Regions from separate parts of the Homo sapiens genome. Here region 1 is linked to region 2. Evidence: promoter capture Hi-C in 16 types of primary human blood cells and fetal thymus (Javierre and others, 2016). All regions are on one chromosome and are shown on one strand. Each heading gives the region's core, a stretch centred on a gene start or on the middle of the fragment in contact. The rest is flanking DNA. Distances are from core to core; before and after follow the strand shown. Region 1 overlaps NCAPD2 (non-SMC condensin I complex subunit D2). Region 2 holds the start of SCNN1A (sodium channel epithelial 1 subunit alpha).

Region 1 (4,881 bases), core at 2,194-4,693, 120 kb before region 2:
CACTGCAACCTCTGCCTCCTGGGTTCAAGCAATTCAGTGCCTCAGCCTCCCGAGTAGCTGGGATTACAGGTGCCTGCCACCACACCTAGCTAATTTTTCTATTTTTTAGTAGAGACGGGGTTTCACCATCTTTTTTAAAAAAAAAAAAAAAATAGATGGAGTCTCGCTCTGTCACCCAGGCTGAAGTGCAGTGGCACGATCTCGGCTCACTACAACCTCCGGCTCCCAGGTTCAAGTGATTCTCCCGCCTCAGCCTCCTGAGTAGCTGGGATTACAGGCACGCGTCACCACACCCGGCTAATTTTTTGTATTTTTAGTAGAGACGGGGTTTCACCATATTGGCCAGGCTGGTCTCGAACTCCTGACCTTGTGATCTGCCCGCCTCGGCCTCCCAAAGTGCTGGGATTACAGGTGTGAGCCACCGTGCCCAACCCCTCACCGATATATTCATACTATTATAAAAAGGGCTCTGGGGAGTGGGTTCACTTGTGCCCTTCTGCCTTCTGCCCTGTGACAATGCAGCAAGAAGGCCCTTGCCAGTTACTGGTGCATTGATTTGGGACTTCCCAGTCTCCAGAAAAAAATGTGAGCCAATAAATTTCTTTCATTATAAATATCCAGTCTCAGGCATTCAGTTATAACAGCATATTTTTCTCAGTCCATTTTCTATACATCGTATTTCCATTGTTGAGCTTGTATCACATATTCACTTCTCTGTCATGCTTTTTAAAATTTAGCATTACAGTAAGTGTATTAGAAACCTTTGTAGGCCAGACGTGGTGGCTCACGCCTGTAATCCCAACACTTTGTAGGCTGAGGCAGGTGGATCATCAGGTCAGGAGTTCGAGACCAGCCTGACCAACATGGTGAAACCCCGTCTCTAATAAAAATACAAAAAAAAAAAAAAAAAAAAAGCCAGGTGTGGTGGCATGCGCCTGTAATCCCAGCTGCTCAGGAGGCTGAGGCAGGAGAATCGCTTGAACTGAGGAGGTTGCAGTGAGCCGAGATAGTGCCACTGTATTCCAGCCTGGGTGACAGAGTGAGACTCCGTCTCAAAAAAAAAGCAACAACAACAACAACAACAAAAACACCTTTGTAAACAATTTTTTTTGAGACAGGGTTTGTTGTGTTGCGCAGGCCGAAGTGCAGTGCAGGATCATAGCTTACTGCAGCCTCAAACTTCTGGGTTCAAGCGATCCTCCTGCCCCAGCCTTCTGAGTAGCTGGGACTACAGGCAGTGCCACCACACTCGGCCTTATATCTATCTTAATTTACTATTCCCCTATTGTTAGATACTGTGATACTTGTAACTTATTCCACTAATTAACAACAACAACAACACATACTCCCCTGGCAAATCTAGGTTAAACCAACTTTCTGGTTACTCCATTCATGTGACCACACAAATAAAAATGGCCTGAGAAAAACACAGAAACAAGCTGACTAGTCTTACGTTAAACTCATGACTACTAACCTGAAGTGGGCATTCGTACTCCCAAGTCTATTCGTTTTCTTCTAGGCAATTATTTCACACCTATCCTCTGCTCATAACACCATGACCTTCTTCCCAAACTCACTCTCAGTTAAAGGCTTTCCCTTCCTATTGAGGAAACAGAAGCAGACAGAAGAGAACTTTCAACTGCCCCAAGCTCTATATTTACCTGCACTAGTTGCATCTATGCCCATACATACACTCTGCCTTTTTTTTTTGCTACTGTGGATAAACTGTCCATGTTCTGATAAAGCCATCTCCTCCCCGTGTACCAGATCACGTACTCTCTTACCTACTAAAGGCACTGCTCCAACAACTGTTCCCTCTTCCTTCTGCAGCATCAGCTTTTCCCTCTCTGATCATTCCTACTCAATATAGACACACATAATGCTGCCCATCTTAAAAGAAATACATTATGTAAATTCATCATCTCTAATCTCTGTCATTCCATTTTCTTAAAAACCTATTCCTAGCAGGCTTTTGCCCCCACCATCTCCTGAAACAGCTTTGTCAAGGTTACCAGTGACTATGACATCAATAAATCCAGTAGTTAATCTGCAGTTGACCTCTCTTTTGTTTTTGAAACACTCTCTTTATTTAGCGTCCATTTAGCTCCTTCATTCGCTTTCTGCCCCAATGACTGCTTCTTAATTTCTTCTACTGGTTCTTCTTCATCCTCCTAGCCTCTAAATGCTGGACTGTCTCAGGTCTTGGTCTTCAAACTGCTGCTCTTCTCCATCTACACTCACTGCAATCTCATGGCTTTAAGTGCTGTCTACACGCTGAGTATTAAATCCTAAATGTGTATCTTTAGCTGACAACCTCTCCCTTGAACTCTGCACTCACATAACCAACAATCTAAACCTCTCCCTCCCATATGCTACCCCATCTCAGTAAATGGCAACTTCATTCTTCTAGTTGCTCAAGTCAAAAAGCCTTGTAAGGCCGGGTGTGGTGGCCCACGCCTGTAATCCCAACATTTTGGGAGGCCGAGGCAGGCAGATCACTTGAGGCCAGAAGTTCAAGACCAGACTGGACAACACGGCAAAACCGCATCTCTACTAAAAATACAAAAATTAGCCAGGTGTCGTGACCCTGGGAGGCGGAGCTTGCAGTGAACCGAGATGGTGCCACTGCACTCCAGCCTGGGCGAGAGAGCGAGACTCTGCCTAAAAAAAAAAAAAAAAAAAAAAAAAAAAAAAATTAGCCAGGCGTGGTGGTGCACACCTGTAATCCTAGATACTCAGGTGGCTGAGGCATGAGAATTGCTTGAACCTGGGAGGCAGAGGTTGCAGCGAGCCAAGATCACGCCACTGCACGCCAACCTGGGTGACAGAGCCAACAGAGCAAGACTGTCAAAAAAAAAAAAAAAAAGCCTTGTAATCATTCTCATCTCAGATTCCTTTACTAACCCTATAATCCAATCCAATCCATCAGCATTCCTGTAAAAGCTCTACTTTGAAAATATATCCTGAGTCGTTTTATCACCACTTCCCCTGCTATCCCTCCAGTCCAATCTACTTGGTATTACTGTATTAGCCACTTAACTAGTATCCCTGCTTCTCTCCTTGCCTCTTATAGTCTCTGCTCAACACAGTCGCCAGTGAATCTTTTAAAATGTCAGACCATGTCACTCCCATGCTCAAAACCCAATGGCTTTCAAGTTCATTCACACTGAAGTTCAAGTTTTTGCCATGATCTACGAGGCTCTAGAGATCAGTGCTTCTCAAGCTTATAATTGCATCCAAATTGCCTGGGGGAATCTTCTTAAAATACAGATTTCCTGATTCAGCAGCTTTGACATCCTGGGCCTTGACATCCTGCATTTCTAATAAGCTCCCAGATCATGAGATCCTGATATTAACACTGCTGATCTGAGGACCACATTTTGAGGAGCAAGATTCTAGAATAATCTGTACCACTTCCTACCTAATCTCTTTTTCCTAGCTTAATGCACTCCAACTCTATTGGCATTTGCCCACCTCAAGGCCTTTGCATAGGCTTTTCTGTTTGCTTGGAATGCTCTTCCCTAACAATCTGCATAGTTTATTTCCTTACTTTCTTAAGGTCTCTGCTCAAACGTGACGTAACAGCAAGCCTTCTCTGATGATCCAACATGAAATGACAGGTCCTACTATCTTCTTCTTTATATTATTTATTTTTAAGCTTTGTATAATTAATTTTAGAGACTATGTTGCCCAAGCTGGTCTTGAACTCCTGGCCTTAACAATCCTGCTTCTGCCTCCCAAGTGGTTGGGATTACAGGGACAAGCCACCATTCCCAGTACACTTCTTTTTTTTTCTTTTTTGAAACAGGGTCTAGCTCTGTGGCCAGGTTGCAGTGCAGTGGCATGATCATGGCTCACTGCAGCCCCTGCCTCCTGGGCTCAAGCAATTCTCCCACCCCAGCCTCCCAAGTAGCTGGAACTACAGGTGTGCACCACCACGCCTGGCTAACTTTTTTGTAATTTTGGTAGAGATGGGGTTTCACCATGTTGGCCAGGCTGGTCTCAAACCCCTGAGCTTGAGCAATCCAACCACCTTGGCTTCCCAAAGTGCTAGGATTACAGGTGTGAGCCACTGCGCCTGGCCACACTGTCTTCTTTATTTTTCTCTTTGGCTCTTACAACCATCTTACACACAGTGGTCCTCACCAATCTGTGTTCTCACTTTCTGGGGTTTCAGTTACCCGTGGTCAATCTCAAGTCTGAAAATATTAAATGAAATATTCCAGAAATAGGCTGGGCACAGTAGCTCACGCCTATAATCCCAGAACTTTGGGAGGCCAAGTTGGGCAGATCACCTGAGGTCAGGAGTTCGAGACCAGCCTGGCCAACATGGTGAAACCCCAGCTCTACTAAAAAATACAAAAAAAATTAGCTGGATGTGGTGGTGGGCACCTGTAATTCCAGCCACTTGGGAGGCTGAAGCAGGAGAATTGCTTGAACCTGTGAGGTGGAGGGTGCAGTGAGCCGATACCTTGCCACTGCACTCCAACCTGGGCGACAGAGCAAAACTCCGTCTCCAGAACAACAAAAAAACCCCCCAAGAATTAGCCAGGCGTGGTGGCACTTACCTGTAGTCCCAGCTGCTTGGGAAACTGAGGCAGGAGAATTGCTTGAGCCCAGGAGGTGAAGGTTGCAGTGGGCTGAGATTGAGCCACTGCACTCCAGCCTGGTCAACAAAGCAAGACCCTTATCTTAAAAAAATAAAAAGAAAGAAAGAAAGAAATATTCCAGAGATACACAATTCATAAATTGTAGGTTGTGTGTCATTCTGAGTAGCATAAAATCTGGTGCTGCCCTGCCGCCTCCTGCCTGGGATGTGAACCATCCCTTTGTCCAACATATCCACACTGTATATGCAACCCTACTCACCCATTAGTAGCC
Region 2 (4,383 bases), core at 695-3,194:
CCCGGCTTTCACATCCAGGTGCACCTGAGCCCCGATCCCCCATGAGTCTGTCTCAGGAAGTAAATGGCAAAAGCGCTAAGTAGATAGCCCCAGAGGAGGAGGAGAATTCTGAATTCTGTTTATAGCTCTGCTCCTATTTTGTTTTCTAACCTCAGAAAACTGATTTATCCTTGGGAAGGGTCAGTTTCTTCATTAGGACAATGAAGAAAAATCCAGCTGTCCCTTCCAAGGGGAGGTATCATGAGCAGTATCAAGGTAAGCAAGGGAACCTGGTTTGGAATCCTGGTTGACACCGGCTTTCACTTTAAGAAGTCGCAAGAGACTGCCGCAAGAGAGGAAGCCACAGACCAGGTTGGACCCTGAGCCTGGAGTACTGCCTTTTCTCTTCTTTGCCTGCTAAACTCCTTGCTTGTCAAGATTCAGCAGAGATGACACCTTCTCTGGGAAGGCTTCCTGAGTCTCCTGCAGTGAGCCCCTAGGCTCCCCTAGCCCTTGGCTCTTATGTCTTATCTCTGAGAAATCTGAGATCTGCACTTTTGTTAGAAGTCCGTTTTAAAGACAATCTTTTAAAGTGTACAAATAGAAACCTTATCTTATTGTATTGCAGGCCTATCTCCTCCCCCGGTGTGTATCAATGCTCAGGCTGGGCCTTTGTCTGCTGGCTTGTGGAGGGAGGCAGGACAAGCCAGTGACCACATTCCTGCACTCTGGGCTGCCTCCTGTGGGGCCCGTGAGGAAGCGGCAGCCTTCCCTGCCGCGTGCAGGGCCTGGGTTGTGTGGGTGGCTCTCCCGAGTCTCCTCCAGCCCTTTTTGGGTCTGATTCTCTGACCCTCCTCTCTCTCCTTGCTCACCACTTGGCACTCCACTCCTTATCCTTTTGCTGCATTAAGTTTGGAAAGAGATTTTGGAGAAAATATAGCCCATCAACGAATTTCTCCTCCTCCCAGGGCCTGTCTAGGCGTGTGCCATGCCCACCCTCTTCCTTTCCAGCGCTGGCCACATCCTCCCTGCACCTTCAGTGCCTGCTTTCCCTGCCTCTTCCTGGGCTCCGGGTCTGTGTCCACAGTGTCCTGCGTGGCCCTCGCGCTGCCTCTGGTTGCCCACATTCCTGCAACTCTGTGACCACAGCAGGGGCGATTACACATTCCTGGCCTGGCAGCCAACAGTGTAAAAAAGAACAGAATGTCCTAGGGCCCCGCCTAGCCCCCAGCTTCACCTGGGCCCCTCCCGGGTCTGGACAAGGTTGGAGGGGGTGGCGAGGAATCAGCAGGAAAGAGGAGGGACCAGGAGGAGGCAGACGCATCCCACCTGAGTGCGCTGCTCCCACTTAGTGAGCGGGGAGGAGACCTGCAGAGACCTCTTCTCTCTTCTCTGCAGGGCCTGAGGGTGAGGCTGACCTGTGGGTGCCCTTGGAGGGCTGCCCACTTGCTGAGCCTCTAGCTCCTGGAAGCACACTTGGGACTCCCCCCTTGCTCTCCTTCCTGGAGACAGACTCCCTTTGGTGCTGGCTCCTTCTATTTGCCCCCACCACTGCCCCCCACCTGCCTCTACTCACTCAGTGCCCCTCCTCCATCCCTATCTCTCTGTCCTTCGCTGTCCCTCTCTATTGTCTCCCTCTTTCTGCCCTCCTGTCCTCCCGGTTCCCCACCCAGGCCCTCTCAGCCTGGCTGGCCCCTTCTCCTTGTGTTGCCCTCCTAGCTGTGGGCTCAGGATCCTTCTACTTGTTCAGATCTTTGCCCCTCACCTGCCATCCTGTCCCCCAGCCTCCTTGCCTGTCTGCGTCTAAAGCCCCTGCCCAGAGTCCGCCTTCTCAGGTCCAGTACTCCCAGTTCACCTGCCCTCGGGAGCCCTCCTTCCTTCGGAAAACTCCCGGCTCTGACTCCTCCTCAGCCCCTCCCCCCGCCCTGCTCACCTTTAATTGAGATGCTAATGAGATTCCTGTCGCTTCCATCCCTGGCCGGCCAGCGGGCGGGCTCCCCAGCCAGGCCGCTGCACCTGTCAGGTGAGGGGGAGGAGAGGTTTGGCTGCCAGATTCAACTGGAAAGGAACCAGTCCCAGTCCAGCCGCAACCTGGGAGTGGGAAGCTGGAGGCAGCCCAGACCTCCTGGAGCCCTGCAGTCCTGGGGCAGAGACAGAATCAGGACACAGCTCGAGGTCAGGGCCAGAGGCTGGAGCTGAGGGCCTAGAGTGAGAGGGGGCAAGGCAAGGGGGGGAGAGGAAGAGAGGCAGGATTAGAGAGAGGAGGCAGGCCAGAAAGAGGAGAGCAGGAGAGACCCAAAGAGAAACAGAAGGCAGATAGAGAGGGAGTGAGAGGCAGGAGCTGAGACACAGATCCTGGAGGAAGAAGACCAAAGGAAGGGGGCAGAGACAGAAAGGGAGGTGCTAGGACAAAACTCGAAAGGTGGCCCTATCAGGGAAGCAGAGGAGAGGCCGTTCTAGGGAAGCCCAGCTCCGGCACTTTTGGCCCCAACTCCCGCAGGTCTGCTGGCTCCAGGAAAGGTGGAGGAGGGAGGGAGGAGTGGGAGAATGTGGGCGCAGGGTGGGACATGGGCATGGCCAGGGGCAGCCTCACTCGGGTTCCAGGGGTGATGGGAGAGGGCACTCAGGGCCCAGAGCTCAGCCTTGACCCTGACCCTTGCTCTCCCCAATCCACTCCGGGGCTCATGAAGGGGAACAAGCTGGAGGAGCAGGACCCTAGACCTCTGCAGCCCATACCAGGTCTCATGGAGGGGAACAAGCTGGAGGAGCAGGACTCTAGCCCTCCACAGTCCACTCCAGGGCTCATGAAGGGGAACAAGCGTGAGGAGCAGGGGCTGGGCCCCGAACCTGCGGCGCCCCAGCAGCCCACGGCGGAGGAGGAGGCCCTGATCGAGTTCCACCGCTCCTACCGAGAGCTCTTCGAGTTCTTCTGCAACAACACCACCATCCACGGCGCCATCCGCCTGGTGTGCTCCCAGCACAACCGCATGAAGACGGCCTTCTGGGCAGTGCTGTGGCTCTGCACCTTTGGCATGATGTACTGGCAATTCGGCCTGCTTTTCGGAGAGTACTTCAGCTACCCCGTCAGCCTCAACATCAACCTCAACTCGGACAAGCTCGTCTTCCCCGCAGTGACCATCTGCACCCTCAATCCCTACAGGTCGGTTAGTCCCTCTGCCCCTTCCCTGGTGCCTGCGCCTGGAAGGGTGGTCCAGGGTGCTGAGGTGCTCACTGGGCAGGCAGAGCCTCAGACCTGAGGGTGGGAACTGACACCCCTGTCCCAGGTAGAGCTCACTGCTGGCAAAATGAGGAGCCTCCAGCTTACTGGACTGGCGTCCCTGCCCAGTGGAGCCATCCTAGCACCCCAGGCTCACCCAGAGTGTGGTTGTTGGAGCAGCATTGCCCTCCCCTGCCCTCTCTTCTCCTTCCCTCCCATTCCCTTCTCCCTCCTGCAAGTGGGAGGGAGTGCTTGCAAAAGGGCAGGGGTGTGCTCAGCTGCATCCCTTTTCTGGAGCAAGATGCCAGCAAAGTATAAGACCTCGTCCACCTCAGCAGGAGAGTCTGATGGAGGGGTGAGGCTAGGTGAGGGGAGGCGAGACCGTGCAGGTGCTGTGGAGGTGGTGCTGTCAGTCTTTGTTTAGAAGGGGAATTTATTATGGAGAAAGCAAAGAGGGGGATCGTGGAGGTTAGGGCTGCAAGTGAGCCCAAAGGCTGGGGGCAGGGGCCTTACAGAACAAGGAGAATGGGTCAGGCTAGAGAGCAGCTCCTTGTGAAGCTCTTCCCCCAAAAGACCCAGGCTAAAATGCTGCACTGTTGACCTGCCCAGGTGCCTGACCTTTACGTGCTTGGGTGTGTCCTGAACTTTTGGGTTTCATCGGTGCTCTTTGCCAATGTTGGGTCTGGAAACCGGAGCAGGTGGTAAGCGTGGAGAAGAGAGGAGGGCAGGGCTGAGTGCTTTTGTATACCTTTTATTTGTATTCACTCAGCCATGCCACACCTTGGGAACACCTGCTTCAAGCCAGACACAGGGCTAGGCACCTGGCAAAATGGATTCATGAATAATTCATAAGCCCTTTATTGAAGGCCAGGTAGTTTGCTGTGTTGTGGAGACAGATAAAATAAGATAGCAGAGACAGGCATATAAGCCAGTAACTGTGGCACACTGGGATAAGTATGATAAAAATGGTGAGTTAGTGTACCTTCAAGGAGTGCAAAATCTTTATGGGTGTGGGTGTGAGTGTGTGTGTGCACATATTGGTATGTGTGCGATTTTGGATGCTGGGGATTGGTCATGCTGTGGGTGGAGGCCCCTTCGTATATTCCATCATGTCCAAAGGTGCGTTACGGACTAAGAAAGGGTGGGACGTCCTGTCCTGGAGAGAGAGAGAAAAAAAAAAGCCAGGT

Evidence for each region. Contacts are between HindIII fragments. The CHiCAGO score rates a contact against its expected background, and 5 or more counts as called.
Region 1: a fragment that was not itself captured here is called in contact with the fragment with the promoter of SCNN1A in region 2 in 1 of 17 cell types (neutrophils); the score reaches 5.3 in neutrophils.

What each region holds. Positions count from the first base shown.
Region 1 is chr12:6,499,042-6,503,922 of GRCh38, reverse strand. The region is part of intron 2 of NCAPD2 (non-SMC condensin I complex subunit D2); the gene reads right to left. Among named protein-coding and RNA genes, the nearest start is that of NCAPD2, 7.4 kb to the right of the region's middle. The HindIII fragment of the contact is 435 bases long and covers 3,226-3,660 here.
Region 2 is chr12:6,373,124-6,377,506 of GRCh38, reverse strand. It overlaps SCNN1A (sodium channel epithelial 1 subunit alpha), which reads left to right and starts at 1,944. Exons shown (of 13, transcript NM_001038.6): 1 at 1,944-2,002; 2 at 2,670-3,139. The coding sequence starts at 2,724. It overlaps LOC105369626 (a long non-coding RNA gene), which reads right to left. Exons shown (of 4, transcript XR_931591.3): 4 at 3,932-4,352. It also overlaps a transcript of LTBR not described here. RefSeq lists enhancers at 512-1,116, 2,933-3,537. The HindIII fragment of the contact is 18,398 bases long and covers 1-4,383 here.